2 separate regions of the Homo sapiens genome follow, and region 2 is linked to region 1. The links are contacts of gene promoters, found by promoter capture Hi-C in blood cells and fetal thymus (Javierre and others, 2016). All regions are on one chromosome and are shown on one strand. Each heading gives the region's core, a stretch centred on a gene start or on the middle of the fragment in contact. The rest is flanking DNA. Distances are from core to core; before and after follow the strand shown. Region 1 holds the start of NTN1 (netrin 1). Region 2 overlaps STX8 (syntaxin 8).

Region 1 (6,767 bases), core at 2,256-4,755:
GGCAGAGAACCTTGATCTGGGCTGCTGTGTAGCGTAGGGTTTGGGCCACCTGCAGACTTAACAGAGAGGGGGGTTTGGAATGGACGTAGAGGAGTTCCACCGTATTACAGGAGGTTCTAGACCTCCTGGATACAAGGTGAGTAAGACAGTCCTGCTCACCAGGAACTACTAAAGATGATAAGCGTAGACCTAAGTGACCACAATAAAACTGGAAGGTGACCCCGCTCATCCTCTCCTGAAGACCCCTGGCCTAAGCTCAGCTGGCAATGTAGAAAAGCCACACTCTACCAAGAGCCATTTCAAACTTACTGCCATGCAAGGGCCATCAAAAGCTCTGTGGACATAGGCTGGGCGCGGTGGCTCACTCCTGTAATCCCAGCACTTTGGGAGGCCGAGGCGGGCAGATCACTTGAGGTCAGGAGTTTGAGACCAGTCTGGCCAACATGGTGAAACCCCGTCTCTACTAAAAATACAAAAAAATTAGCCAGGTGTGGTGGTGGGTACCTGTAATCCCAGCTACTTGGGAGGCTGAGGCAGGAGAATCGCTTGAACCCGGGAGGCAGAGGTTGAGAATGCGCCATTGCACTCCAGCCTGGGCAATAGGGCAAGACTCCATCTTAAAAAAAAAAAAAAAAAAAAAGGCTCTGTGGACAGAAACAACATTCAGGAGGAAGGCTTGGAAAGCACTTCTCAATCCAGTCTTGTAGATGCTCCAAAAGGTACCCCAGTCAGCTGAGCACCCCAATTTGCTTCTTTTCCATTCCTCTTTGCTGGAATGTCTTTTCCTGACTTGGGTTTTGATGCGATGCCATCAGCTTACATTCAGGGGGATCACAGAAACTGTCCAACCGAGCTCACTGTTGTGACTGTTTTGGGGATGTTGTCAGGGACGTTTGCTCATTACCCCATACTGTGTTCCCTTTCTGGGCCACGCCCCCACAAGAAATTCCTATCTGATTTTAGTACCAAGAATAGTTGTAATTCCCTTGAGCAGTAGGTCTGTTTTTATCTCATGGACACTGGGAATTGTGTAATGAACATGGTCTCCTCATTTTAGCTGCAGGAAAGCTTAGGGACAAATTTGTGGCCCACTCAGAAGAGGTGTAGAGGTTGGAACTCCAGGGTGCATTGGACCTGTATCCTCCTCTCGACTTTGTCTCCCTTCTTAGCTTTTCTTTGTTCTCTTACTTCATATTTTACTGTGCAAAACTGAGAGCATACAAGCAAAGATAAATAAAAATCACCTGTAATCTCATTATTCCGAGATAACCACTATTAACTGTGTTGTCTTTTTATGCATACTTTTTAAAAAATTAAAATGACATTATACTGTGTGTTTTTAATTTGCTTTTTTCATATTATAATATGTCATGAACATCTTTCCCTGTAATTAAGTGTTCTCTAAATGATTTAAAATTTCTGTATAGATCAAGCGACCTCATACTAACAGCTAACATTTCTATATGCATGTACTATGTGCCTGGTTTTATGCATATTTACATTTGCATACATGAGAAAGCCTATTTATATGTGTTACAGACCTGCAATATGTATGTCTATATCCCATCAGCTATAATATTCAAATGTGTCAACTCACGTGATGCTCACAACCCAGTGGGGTAGAAAGTATTATCTCCCTTGTACAGATGGAGGAAACCAAGGCATAGACTTTCCATAGTCACACAGCAGAGGCAGAATTTGAACCCAGGTACCCTGGCTCCGAAGCGTTTCCTCCTAAGAGCTATGCTGCCTTTCAGTATACCATTGCGATTTCACAGGTCACCATGGTTAACCATTTCATTTATTTCCTTTGACCTCACTTTTAATTTGTTATTGTGTCATATTTTATGTACCCTTGTAAGTTACCTGAAATCCTTTCTGCCACAAGGTGAGGTAAGGCATAAATAAACAGTGCAGAGTGTGGTAAACGGCACAAGAAGGCACAGCTAAATTGCTACCCCGGGGTAAGAAGATGAATCCAGGCTGTCCTGCAATGGAATGGATTTATTTTCTTGAGCTGTGGTGAGCTCCCATCCCTGGAAGAGCTGGCTTGGGTGGCCGTCTCTCTGGGAGGCTGGGGAAGGCCTTCTTCCAAGGAGACGGAGCTGGGCCAGACGAGCCCCGAGGCCCCTTCTTAGATTCTCAGGGTTTATGAAAATGCCAATAAGACAAACTGAGGCACTTAATGGAGCTAATGCAGCAAGGCAGCCCTTGGGCCGGAACCAGGACCTGGGGCTTTTCATCCGGGTCTATTACTGGACCACACATCTACAAGTAACAAATAAACGAGCAGAGATTCCGTTCCAAACTCTCGGCCCAGTGTATTCCTTTCCCAGAGCTCTCTGGCTGCTGTTGCAAGATGACCAAAGGATGCTGTCACTGTCCTCAGTCTTTTTATTGGGGCGATGGAGAATGAGGCAAGGAGGGGCTGGGTGGCCCCGCAGATGCCCCATGACACCATCATTCGGCAAGGTTATGCATTTGACGAATGCCCTGCAGTGGAAGGAGCCCAGGCTTCTCTTCCTGTTTTTGATGTTTACTTGGGGGTTGATCTTGTGCGAGTTTCTTCAGCTCCCGGGACCCTCAGTTTCCTCATCTGCAAAATGGAGTTAATACAACAGCAAAGCTGCTGTGGAGGTCCCATGAGCTATTACAGGGCTTTGCACCCTTAAAAATGCGGTTGAGGAAGTACCGATACGCCTGCCTCAGGGGATCTGGGGAGGGCTGGGCTGTCCCCATGCCTGAGACCAGGCAGGCCCGTCTTGGAGGGGCGGTGGCCAGCGTCCAGGTGCTGCCAGCTTCCTACCCCTTCAGCCTCCTGCCCACCACTGCTCCCTTGGCTAGAACGAAGCCGCGTTCCCGACAGACAGGCTCACGCACGGTGATATCCGTGGGAGTGCGGGCGAGCAGCCCCTCCTCGCCGGACCCCGGGGGCTTCGGGCAAAAATGGAGAGCAGGCAGAGGTCACATCCTCCTCCTCTTCCTCACGCTCCCGGGCTGCGTGCCCACAGGGGCACAGCCCTGTGCGCGGTGCCACCGGGGGCCATCAGGCTGGGTTAGAGGAAGGCCCGACCTCCGCGCAGCAAAGAAAACAAACACAGATGTGTTTGGCTGGGACCGGGAGGGAGAAAGTGGCCCCCTTCCCCCGCCCGCGCGCTCCCCCGGGCGTGAGGCTCTCCGGGCGGCGCGGGGCGCGGGCGAGGCTGACAGTCCCCGGCGGCCCCTCCTCCCCCACGGGGTGCGCGCCTGGCCCGGCCCAGCCCCCTCTCCGGGGTTTCCCCGGGTGCTCTCCTCGCTTTCTCTTTGTCTCTGCTGTTCTTTCTCGGGCTCCCGGGTTCCCACCCGCCTGTGCTCTCCCTCTCGGGCGTCCGGGCCGGTTCCCTTTAACTTTCTTCTTTCCCGGGGTGAAAACTTTGCTCGGAGCTGGCGGCAGCTCGCGGACGTTATTGGCCGGCGCCCCGCCCGGCGGCCCCGCCCCCCGCCCCCGCGCTCCCCTCCGCCCCTCACTCCCAGCGCGAGTGGCGGCGGCGGCGGAGCCTTCGGGGGCGAGCGCGCGTGTGTGTGAGTGCGCGCCGGCCAGCGTGAGTGTGTGTGCGCCCCGGGCGCGGGCAGGGCAGCACTCCGAGCTCGGCGGGAGCGGCGGGAGCCGGGCGGCCGCGTAGTCACTCGGGCGAGAGAGGCGGCGGCGGGGCCGGGACCGGGGCTGGGGCTGGGGCAGCGGCGGCCGCGCCGGGCATGGAGCTGGCAAGCCCGCGCTGAGGCGGGACGCGCCTGCTAGCAGCGAGCGAGAGGCTCTCCGGCGACCGGCGCGCGGGCTCCCCGGAGGGGCCAGGCAAACTTTTCTTTCTCTTTTGCCCCCTCCAGAGGTAAAGTCCCGAACGCGGACTTTCCGGCGGGGACGCGATCGGGGGGCATCTGAGAGGGACCCCGGGCTGCGAGACGAAGGGGCGCGGGCCGTGCAGAGTCGGGGTCCCCCAGCTCTCCTGCGCCCGAAACTTGGGGTGCGAGGGGGGCTGGTCGCGGACGGGGAGACCGGCTCAGGCATGCCCCTCGGGCGGCGTGGGGGCGGCGGTGGCGGGGAAGCAGAGCGTTCTCCCGCCGGGCGGGGAAGAAGGGGCGCGAGCGGTGCGGACTTGGAGGGCCCCGGCTTCGCCGCCCGCGGGACTTTGGGGGAGAGAGGCGGGCAGTCGGCTGCGGGGTGGGTGCCCAGGAAGCCGGGCGTTCTCCCGCATCTCCGCTCGCCACCCCGCCGAGAGCTGGAGGGCGCGGGGCGGGCTGGCTGAGCGCAGCTCCCTTCTCTCCGCAGGCGCCTTCTGCGGCAGGCGGACAGATCCTCGGCGCGGCAGGGCCGGGGCAAGCTGGACGCAGCATGATGCGCGCAGTGTGGGAGGCGCTGGCGGCGCTGGCGGCGGTGGCGTGCCTGGTGGGCGCGGTGCGCGGCGGGCCCGGGCTCAGCATGTTCGCGGGCCAGGCGGCGCAGCCCGATCCCTGCTCGGACGAGAACGGCCACCCGCGCCGCTGCATCCCGGACTTTGTCAATGCGGCCTTCGGCAAGGACGTGCGCGTGTCCAGCACCTGCGGCCGGCCCCCGGCGCGCTACTGCGTGGTGAGCGAGCGCGGCGAGGAGCGGCTGCGCTCGTGCCACCTCTGCAACGCGTCCGACCCCAAGAAGGCGCACCCGCCCGCCTTCCTCACCGACCTCAACAACCCGCACAACCTGACGTGCTGGCAGTCCGAGAACTACCTGCAGTTCCCGCACAACGTCACGCTCACACTGTCCCTCGGCAAGAAGTTCGAAGTGACCTACGTGAGCCTGCAGTTCTGCTCGCCGCGGCCCGAGTCCATGGCCATCTACAAGTCCATGGACTACGGGCGCACGTGGGTGCCCTTCCAGTTCTACTCCACGCAGTGCCGCAAGATGTACAACCGGCCGCACCGCGCGCCCATCACCAAGCAGAACGAGCAGGAGGCCGTGTGCACCGACTCGCACACCGACATGCGCCCGCTCTCGGGCGGCCTCATCGCCTTCAGCACGCTGGACGGGCGGCCCTCGGCGCACGACTTCGACAACTCGCCCGTGCTGCAGGACTGGGTCACGGCCACAGACATCCGCGTGGCCTTCAGCCGCCTGCACACGTTCGGCGACGAGAACGAGGACGACTCGGAGCTGGCGCGCGACTCGTACTTCTACGCGGTGTCCGACCTGCAGGTGGGCGGCCGGTGCAAGTGCAACGGCCACGCGGCCCGCTGCGTGCGCGACCGCGACGACAGCCTGGTGTGCGACTGCAGGCACAACACGGCCGGCCCGGAGTGCGACCGCTGCAAGCCCTTCCACTACGACCGGCCCTGGCAGCGCGCCACAGCCCGCGAAGCCAACGAGTGCGTGGGTGAGTGGGGTGCGGCGGCGGAGCCGGCGGCGGGTGGGGCCGCGGGCGGGAGCTGCTGGGCCTCGCAGCGGCGAGTTCATAGGAGCGCGGGTCGAGGGAACGGCGGGAGGCGCGTTCGCCGATGCCCGGGACCCGGGAGGGCTCAGAGCAGGTCCACTCGCTCGCGTGGCGCTCGTGGTGGACGCCCGAATTTGCGCCCAGTGCTCTCTGCGAAGCCAAGAAGCAGCAGGAGAAATGTTCCCGGGAGGGGGTTTGGCAGAACATTTGCAGATAGGTCTCCGCTAACCCTGGATCCAAACGCAAACATTCATTGCCTTCCCCCTCGTTGGGTTGGACGCTGGGATTCACCTGCACCCACCCCCCTTTCCCAAGGCTGCAGCTGGGCTCGCGGTTGGGGACCCCGGCCCAGTTCCTGGGAAGTTCCAACTCCACACCTACAAATCCCTTGGGAGATGGCAAAGAACTGTTTGTAGTTTGGGGTCAGTTCGGTACCCGACGAGTATCACTCCTGCCCTCCATTTGTCTTTTCATGATTTGAAACTATTTTTGTCTCTCTTTTGAACAGCGTGTTTGTGTTAGCAAAAGAAGAATGATGTGATTTCAATTAATTACTATCTGCTGATTACAACGGAGCGTTCAGTAATTATTTTAAACGAATTCAATTCTGGTCTAAAAAAGTATACCAGATTTTTTTTATTAGCTTCAGGCTTTGGTGAAATTAAACAGTTTTGAATTAACTAAGGGTCCAGCTTCTCACTTTTTAAATAGGGTTTCATTTCCTGAAAGAGAAATCTGACAAAACCGGGTGAATACGGCTGGGTCAGAAATGAAGCTAAAAAAGGATACGTTCTGCTTCTGAATTGGACGACTTTGCTGCTGCAGAAGCTCTCAGAAATCAGTTTCTCCCCATAAAAAGAAAAAAAGGGTGAGGGGAGGTAGCAAGACTACACCTTACTTTTTCAGTATGGGAAGTAAAGCTCCAAAGCCCACATTTATTTGAGCGAAAATTATTTAGTCTGTAAATGTCCCATTTGGTGTGCATCCTTTATGAACGTACAGATTTTTCCTCTCCATCTCCCCATCTCAAACAGCCAGTGTGAGGCTCTTCAATTGCTTTGCCCCTCTTAGGCACATTTCAAAGTTTGCTGGTCCCCACAAACACACGTTTTGAGGTCTGGTTCTGATTAATTGTGTCATGTTGTTGTCGAATAGTTTGTGCCTCATGACTGTGGATGCAGAGTTTTGAGCAAGGGAATGGAAAACATGTCTTGGAGGGCCGGATCGCCGCAGAGGCCCAGTCAGGCGTCCTGGTCTGAAGACGCCGGGCCTCCCGCCTCCTGTTGCAAGGGAGGCCTCCATTTTTACGCTCGTGTCCCGCTC
Region 2 (6,767 bases), core at 1,674-4,173, 480 kb after region 1:
AAAATTGCTTTATCTAGTAGAGACATAGATTATGAATGAAAAATACACTAATTACACTCTTTAATCTCAAACTTGACTCATTATCTGATTTAGCAACCTGATGATCATCTAATGCACATGAGAAAGAGAACTAAAAGTTCTGTTCCCCTCTAATAATTTGTATAAGCTTAGCAATTCTCTCCACATCTTTAAGTGCTGCAGTAAATTTTCATTACACAATCCAAAGACACAGAAGATTCAGATAATCGAGATGCTGTAGAGGTAATAATAATCACATTCATAACCTGGGCTTCCCCAAGTCCTGAAGAGGCATTTCTAAGGGGAAGGTGGTATGGCTATCTTAGAGACAATGATCAAAACACAATGCTGCTGACTGCAAAAATATAAATAATCAAGAACCATGCATGGGCATGGTGGTGTGCGCCTGTAGTCTCAGCTATTCGGGAGGCTAAGGCAGGAGGACTGCTTGAGCCCAGAAGTTCAAGTCCAGCCAGGGGCAATATAGCAAGACTCCTGTCTCAAAAAGAAAAAAAGAAGAAGAAACCATACCATGCAGTTTCTTTTTCTTTCTCTTTTTTTTTTTTTTTTTGAGACAGAGTTTCGCTCTTGTCGCCCAGGCTGGAGTACAATGGCATGATCTCGGCTCACTGTAACCTCCACCTTCCAAGTTCAAGCAATTCTCCTGTCTCCGCCTCCCCAGTGGCTGGGATTACAGGCATCCACCACAATGTCCAGCTAATTTTTGTATTTTTAGTAGAGACGAGGTTTTGCCATGTTGGCCAGGCTGGTCTCGAACTCCTGACCTCAGGTGATCCAGCTGCCTCGGCCTCCCAAAGTGCTGGGATTACAGGCGTGAGCCACCACACCCAGCCACCATGTACTTTCTTACCAACAAAACTACCATCATGTCATAACTGCCAAAATCTGCCCTACTCTTTCACATAACCCAAGTCATGATGATATCACAAGAGGGCAATTGTAACATACCACACTCTATCAGTCATTATTCTATTTTACAATGATTTGAATTTTTAAAAATGGATGGATCATTGTTACAGATAGAATAATATCCCCCATGTTTAAGATGTCCATATCCTAATCCCCAGAAACTATGAATATGTTCCCTTACATGGCAAAAGGGACTTTGCAGATGTGATTAAGGTTAAAAATCTGAGACGGGGGATTAGCCTGGATTATCCAGGTGGATCCAGTATAATCATATGAGTCCTGAAAAGCAGAGAACCTTTCCCAGCTGCCATCAGAGGGAGTATGAAGAAGGGTCAGAGAGAGATAACTTACTGGCTTTGAAGACGAAAGAAGAGATGTGGGAGCCCTCTAGAAGCTACAAAAAGTAAGGGAACGAATTCTCCAGAATGAGCCTCCAGAAAAGAATCAAGCTAACTGCTTGATCTGAGCCCTGTGGGACCTGCATTGGACTACTCACCTACAGAACTGTAAGATCATAAATGTGTTTTAAGTCACTAAGTTTGTGCTAATTTATTAAAGCAGCAATAGAAAACTAATACAATCATTTTTTAAAAATCCCCTTGAAACCATTAGGTGTTTGGATATTTCCTATCTGTAGACATTCAGAAATGCAAGATCTGGATAGTGGGAAACTAAAGGGCAAATGCAGTTTCAATGAAGAAACTGCATAGAAGAAAAAGGAAGAGTTGGAAAAAGAACCTGTATATTAAAGAAACTTAAGAGACATAACTAGTTGCAATGTATGGGCCATATTTAGATCCTGAATTGAACTACCTAAAAGAAAACATCACAGCACAATCAGGGAAACTTGAATGCTGAGTATTTGATTAGATTCAGGAAATATTGTTAACTTCTTAAGGATGATAATGGCATGTGACTATAGTTTTCCAAAACAGTATTTATCTTTTCCAAACATATTTCAGATATATATTCTCAAATATCCACTGATGAAATGATACGATGTCTGGGATTTGCTCCCAAAATAACCTAGGGGCTGGGTAGGATGGGTAGGTTACGGGATGGCATATACATGTGAACAGATTGGCTATGGGTTGACAATCACTGAGGCTGGAGGATGAGTAGGACAAAGTCATTATCTGACACTCTCTACTATTACACGTTTGAAATTTTCCATAGTAAAAAGTTATCAATATTTTAACAATACAACAGAGGGACATCCCTAAGAGCTGCAACTACAGTCCCTGGATTGAGTACAAGATCCAGACCCCAATGACTGTCTTCTTTTCCTGTGTCTTTGACATACATGAGACTTCTTCTTTTTCTATGTCTTTGCCCCAGATCTGAGCCCAGCTAGTGGCACGGAGCACCAACATATTTAAATCAAGGACTGAAATGTACAACACTTGTTTAAATCAATGAATGACCACAGAGGGAGGGCCCTCTAGGTTTACAAAAGAAAGGAATACAGTCTCTGCTAGACAGAAAGACTCCTGGCCAATACTAGAGAGCCCTCTGAGTTTACACAGTCAAAAAAGTAGTTGATGTTGTGTTGTCCAGTGCCCACAGAGAAGCAATGAACCTTTCACATTTAACATACAGAAGGAGCTCTCCCTCAATAAAGGAAGGTAGGAATGAAAGAGAAGAAAATCAGGTCACCCAGGTGCAGTGGCTCACGCCTGTAATCCTAGCACTTTGGGAGCCTGAGGTGGGGGGGGATCATCTGAGGTCAGGAGTTCGAGACCAGCCTGGCCAACATGGCAAAATCCTGTCTCTACTAAAAATACAAATATTAGCCAGATGCAGTGGCATGCACCTGTAGTCCCAGCTACTTGGGAGGCTGAGGCTGGAGAATCACTTGAACCCAGGAGATGGAGGTTGTATTGAGTTGAGATCGCACCACTGCACTCCAGCCTGGGTGACAGAGTGAGACACCATCTCAAAAAAAAAAAACAAAAGAAAAGAAAAATTAGGTCAAGCTAGATAAAAAGTTAATCACTATGTTAGAAGACTCAGAGCAAGTTTAAGAATAGATGTTTTTATTTTTGTTTTAAGATTTTAGGAAAGGAATCCTTCTAGTCTAGGTGACAGCTACAAGAAAGGGTATCTTCAAAGAAAGTTTTCTGTGAAGCTGTGACTGCAAGGGTTCAAAGGTTAGCTACTAAGATTCCCCAGTGTGAAATGGAGTCTGGCTAGCCACCTTCTACAGCCCCATTTCACATGCAAACACCAAGAGACCTAAGAACGCAGAAATCTAGAACGATTGCACAATTTCCTGCTAGAGTCTAGAAAGAACATCTATAGAAAATTCATAAGACTAGATGAAGCTGATGAAGAAACCCCATCAAGAAAGACCTCCTGGGTGAAGGTGGAATGACACTTCATACTTCTCCAAGGTCTGCGATCCCACTCAGGGACAAGGGTGTATAATAACCAAAGCATTTTGAAACAAGAAACAAGTACCCTTGTTCCTTCTATCTCAGGGATCTTTGAGGCAATTAAGTGATTGTCATCACCCACCCATCTTCTGCCTAATGCCCATTTCATGCTTCAAATTACAGCTGAAGGGGCACAGAAGCCAAATTGGCTAATTTGTTACGATGAGGCTTCACTTCTAGGTTAGGCAAGGAAGGCATTCCCTGCCCTTCAGTCTATGTTCTACCAGTAAACTGTAATTTTGGGATGATTTTCAAAGTTTCTAAGGGTCAGCTAGAGTGCAGAATGGCTAAGGGATTCCACGGGCTAAAGGAAGTCAGAAATGACCTTTTGTGGCTCTTTATTTTCATTTAATGCAGGACCTGGCAAGGACGCAAACAAAGCCATAGCAACTTCAGCACATTGTCAAGATTCTTGAGGCAGAGAAAAGGCTAATAAGGGTTCTGTGTGAAGATTACTTCCATTTTTTGTATTTGTCCTTGAAAAACAGCTCGCTAGCAAAGAGGAATATGGCATTTCTTTCTTTCTTTTTCTTGAAGCAGTCTTGCCCTGTCGCCAGGCTGGAGTGTAGTAGCACAATCTCGGCTCACTGCAACCTCCGCCTCCCGAGTTCAAGCCATTCTCCTGCCTCAGCCTCCCGAGTAGCTGGGACTACAGGCGCCCGCCACGGACGCCCAGCTAATTTTTGTATTTTTAGTAGAGATGGGGTTTCACCATGTTGGCCAGGATGGTCTCGATCTCTTGACCTTGTGATGTGCTTGCCTCTGCCTCCCAAAGTGCTGGGATTACCGGCGTGAGCCACCACGCCCAGCCGGAACATAGCATTTCAAAACACAAAGGTAAGAGCAGTGGAGAGAAACTGACCTGCAACCTGCGCTGCCGCTCCCCGCAAACTCCACCCACACCCCACAGGCCAGCAGGCTTCCCAAGGGTGAGAATCTTCATAAGGAAGCTCTGTTTTGGAGACTGTGACAAACACTTTGAGGAGCATCCTCTCACACTGACCTAAAGCAACCCCTGAAAATAGCACCTTCTCCGGGACGAGCATACTCTTCCCGACTGAAAACAGCTTTTCTTGGCAAAATGCAACAATGCCAGAAAATGCATGAGTATTAGCTATAAGGTGCTCCATTCAGGAAATGTGAGTCCTGAAGAGCGAATGGTTGTGCTGCATGTAAAGCTGTGTTGTTTTTCATTTTTTTCACTTTCCTCCAAATATGGTAATGGGTGAAGTATGTAAAACTGAAGATGTAAGAGAGTCACGGTGTTTCACTGACTCAATAATTTCACTGTGAAAAGGGAATTCGAAATAGAATCAGATTTCTGCTTCTGCCCAAGATGGACTGACAGGCACCAGACTTCCTTCTGGACTGAAACAACTGGAAAAACAAAACAAAACAGGGTAAATATACGAAACAACAGTTTTAAGACATGGACATCAGGAAATGAAGGGCAGTGATCCCTGAGAGACGGGAAACAAATGAGGTGAGTTCTAAGACTGCCCCGGATTACTACCTCATAAGAGTTCCCAAGCCATGGTGTGGGGATGGGAGAACACAGGTGGAACCCAGCATTTTCCTCGAGTTGAGAAAAGTCCCAAGAGGCCATGGTGGTTAGAGGATGTAGGGCACAGGACCAGAGAGGACTGCAGAGAGTACTCTGTAGATCTGCACAGGGGCCACTTTGAGTCTCGAGCTGAGTGTCATTCAGAAATTAGTGACTTTGGCAAGGCTGCATGATCCAAGATCAATATACAAAGATCAACTGTATTTTGATATACAAGCAACAATTAGAAATTGATATTTTAAAAATGCTACTTAGAATAAAAGATATGAAGGCCGGGCGTGCTGGCTCACGCCTGTAATACCAGCACTTTGGGAGGCCGAGGCGGGCAGATCACGAGGTCAGGAGATTGAGACCATCCTGGCTAACATGGTGAAACCCTGTCTCTATTTAAAAAAATACAAAAAATTAGCCGCGCGTGGTGGCGGGCACCTGTAGTCCCAGCTACTTGGGAGGCTGAGGCAGAAGAATGTCGTGAACCCAGGAGGCAGAGCTTGCAGGGAGCCAAGATCTCGCTACTGCACTCCAGCCTGGGTCACAGAGTGAGACTGTCTCAAAAAATAAAATAAAATAAAAGATATGAACTATTTAGGGATAAATAGGATAAAAGATATATAAGACACGTATAGCAAAAACTAAAAGGCATTGCTGAGAGAATTTGAGACTCAATAGTGTTAAAATATCAATTCTCCTCAAACTAATCTAAAAATTCAATGTAATCCCAATCAAATGCCCAGGAAGCTTTCTTTTGTAAAATTAAAAACAGATTCTAGAATTCACATGGAAATGCAAAAGACCTAGAATATCCAATAAAATTGTAAAAATAAACGAAGCTGGATGACCTGTACTATCTTACTTAATGACCCATCATAAAGGTAAAATAATTAATACAGTGAGGCATTGGTATAAAGATAAACAAATAGACCAATGGAAAAGAACAGAGAGTACAACAGAAATAGGCCCATACGCGCAGCAGCTCACATCTGTAATCCCAGCACTTTGGGAGGCCGAGGTGGGTGGGTCACCTGAGGTCAGGAGTTTGAGACCAGCCTGGCCAACATGGAGAAACCCCATCTCTACTAAAAATACAAAAATTAGCTGGGCATGGTGGTACATGCCTGTAATCCCAGCTACTCAGGAGGCTGAGGCAGGAGAATCGCTTGAACCTGGGAGACGGAGGATGCAGTAAGCCAGGATCACGCCACTGCACTCCAGCCTGGGCAACAGTCTCAAAAAAATAAACAGGCCAGGCACGGTGGCTCACGCCTGTAATCCCAGCACTTTGGGAGGCCGAGGCAGGCGGATCACGAGGTCAGGAGATCGAAACCAGCATGGCTAACACGGTGAAACCCCATCTCTAAAATACAAAAAATTAGCCAGGCATGGTGGTGGGTGCTTGTAGTCCCAGCTACTCGGGAGGCTGAGGCAGGAGAATAGCGTGAACCTGAGAGGTGGAGCTTGCAGTGAGCAGAGATTGCGTCACTGCACTCCAGCCTGGGCGACAGAGCAAGACTCTGTCTCAAAAAACAAACAAACAAACCAAACATGATGAGCTGTCACCTCACACCTGTCAGAATGGCTATGATCAAAAAGAAAAAAGATAACAAGTGTTGGCAAGAATGTGGAGAAAAGCGAATCCCTGCACACTGTTGGTGGGGATGTAAATTTACTGCAACCATTATGGAAAACAGTATGGAGGTTCTTCAAAAAATTAAAAGTGATACTAGCAATCCCACTGCTGGGATTTGTAGGCAAAGAAAGCCAGGCAAATACCATATGATCTCATTTATATGCAGAATCTGAAAAAGATGAACAGAGAAGCA

Evidence for each region. Contacts are between HindIII fragments. The CHiCAGO score rates a contact against its expected background, and 5 or more counts as called.
Region 2: a fragment that was not itself captured here is called in contact with the fragment with the promoter of NTN1 in region 1 in 1 of 17 cell types (endothelial precursors); the score reaches 5.3 in endothelial precursors.

Annotation. Positions count from the first base shown.
Region 1 is chr17:9,018,005-9,024,771 of GRCh38, forward strand. It overlaps NTN1 (netrin 1), which reads left to right and starts at 3,506. Exons shown (of 7, transcript NM_004822.3): 1 at 3,506-3,581; 2 at 4,307-5,387. The coding sequence starts at 4,370. RefSeq lists silencers at 2,868-2,917, 2,968-3,757 and an enhancer at 2,904-3,447. The HindIII fragment of the contact is 7,248 bases long and covers 1,067-6,767 here.
Region 2 is chr17:9,495,504-9,502,270 of GRCh38, forward strand. The region is part of intron 5 of STX8 (syntaxin 8); the gene reads right to left. Among named protein-coding and RNA genes, the nearest start is that of STX8, 77 kb to the right of the region's middle. The HindIII fragment of the contact is 5,519 bases long and covers 165-5,683 here.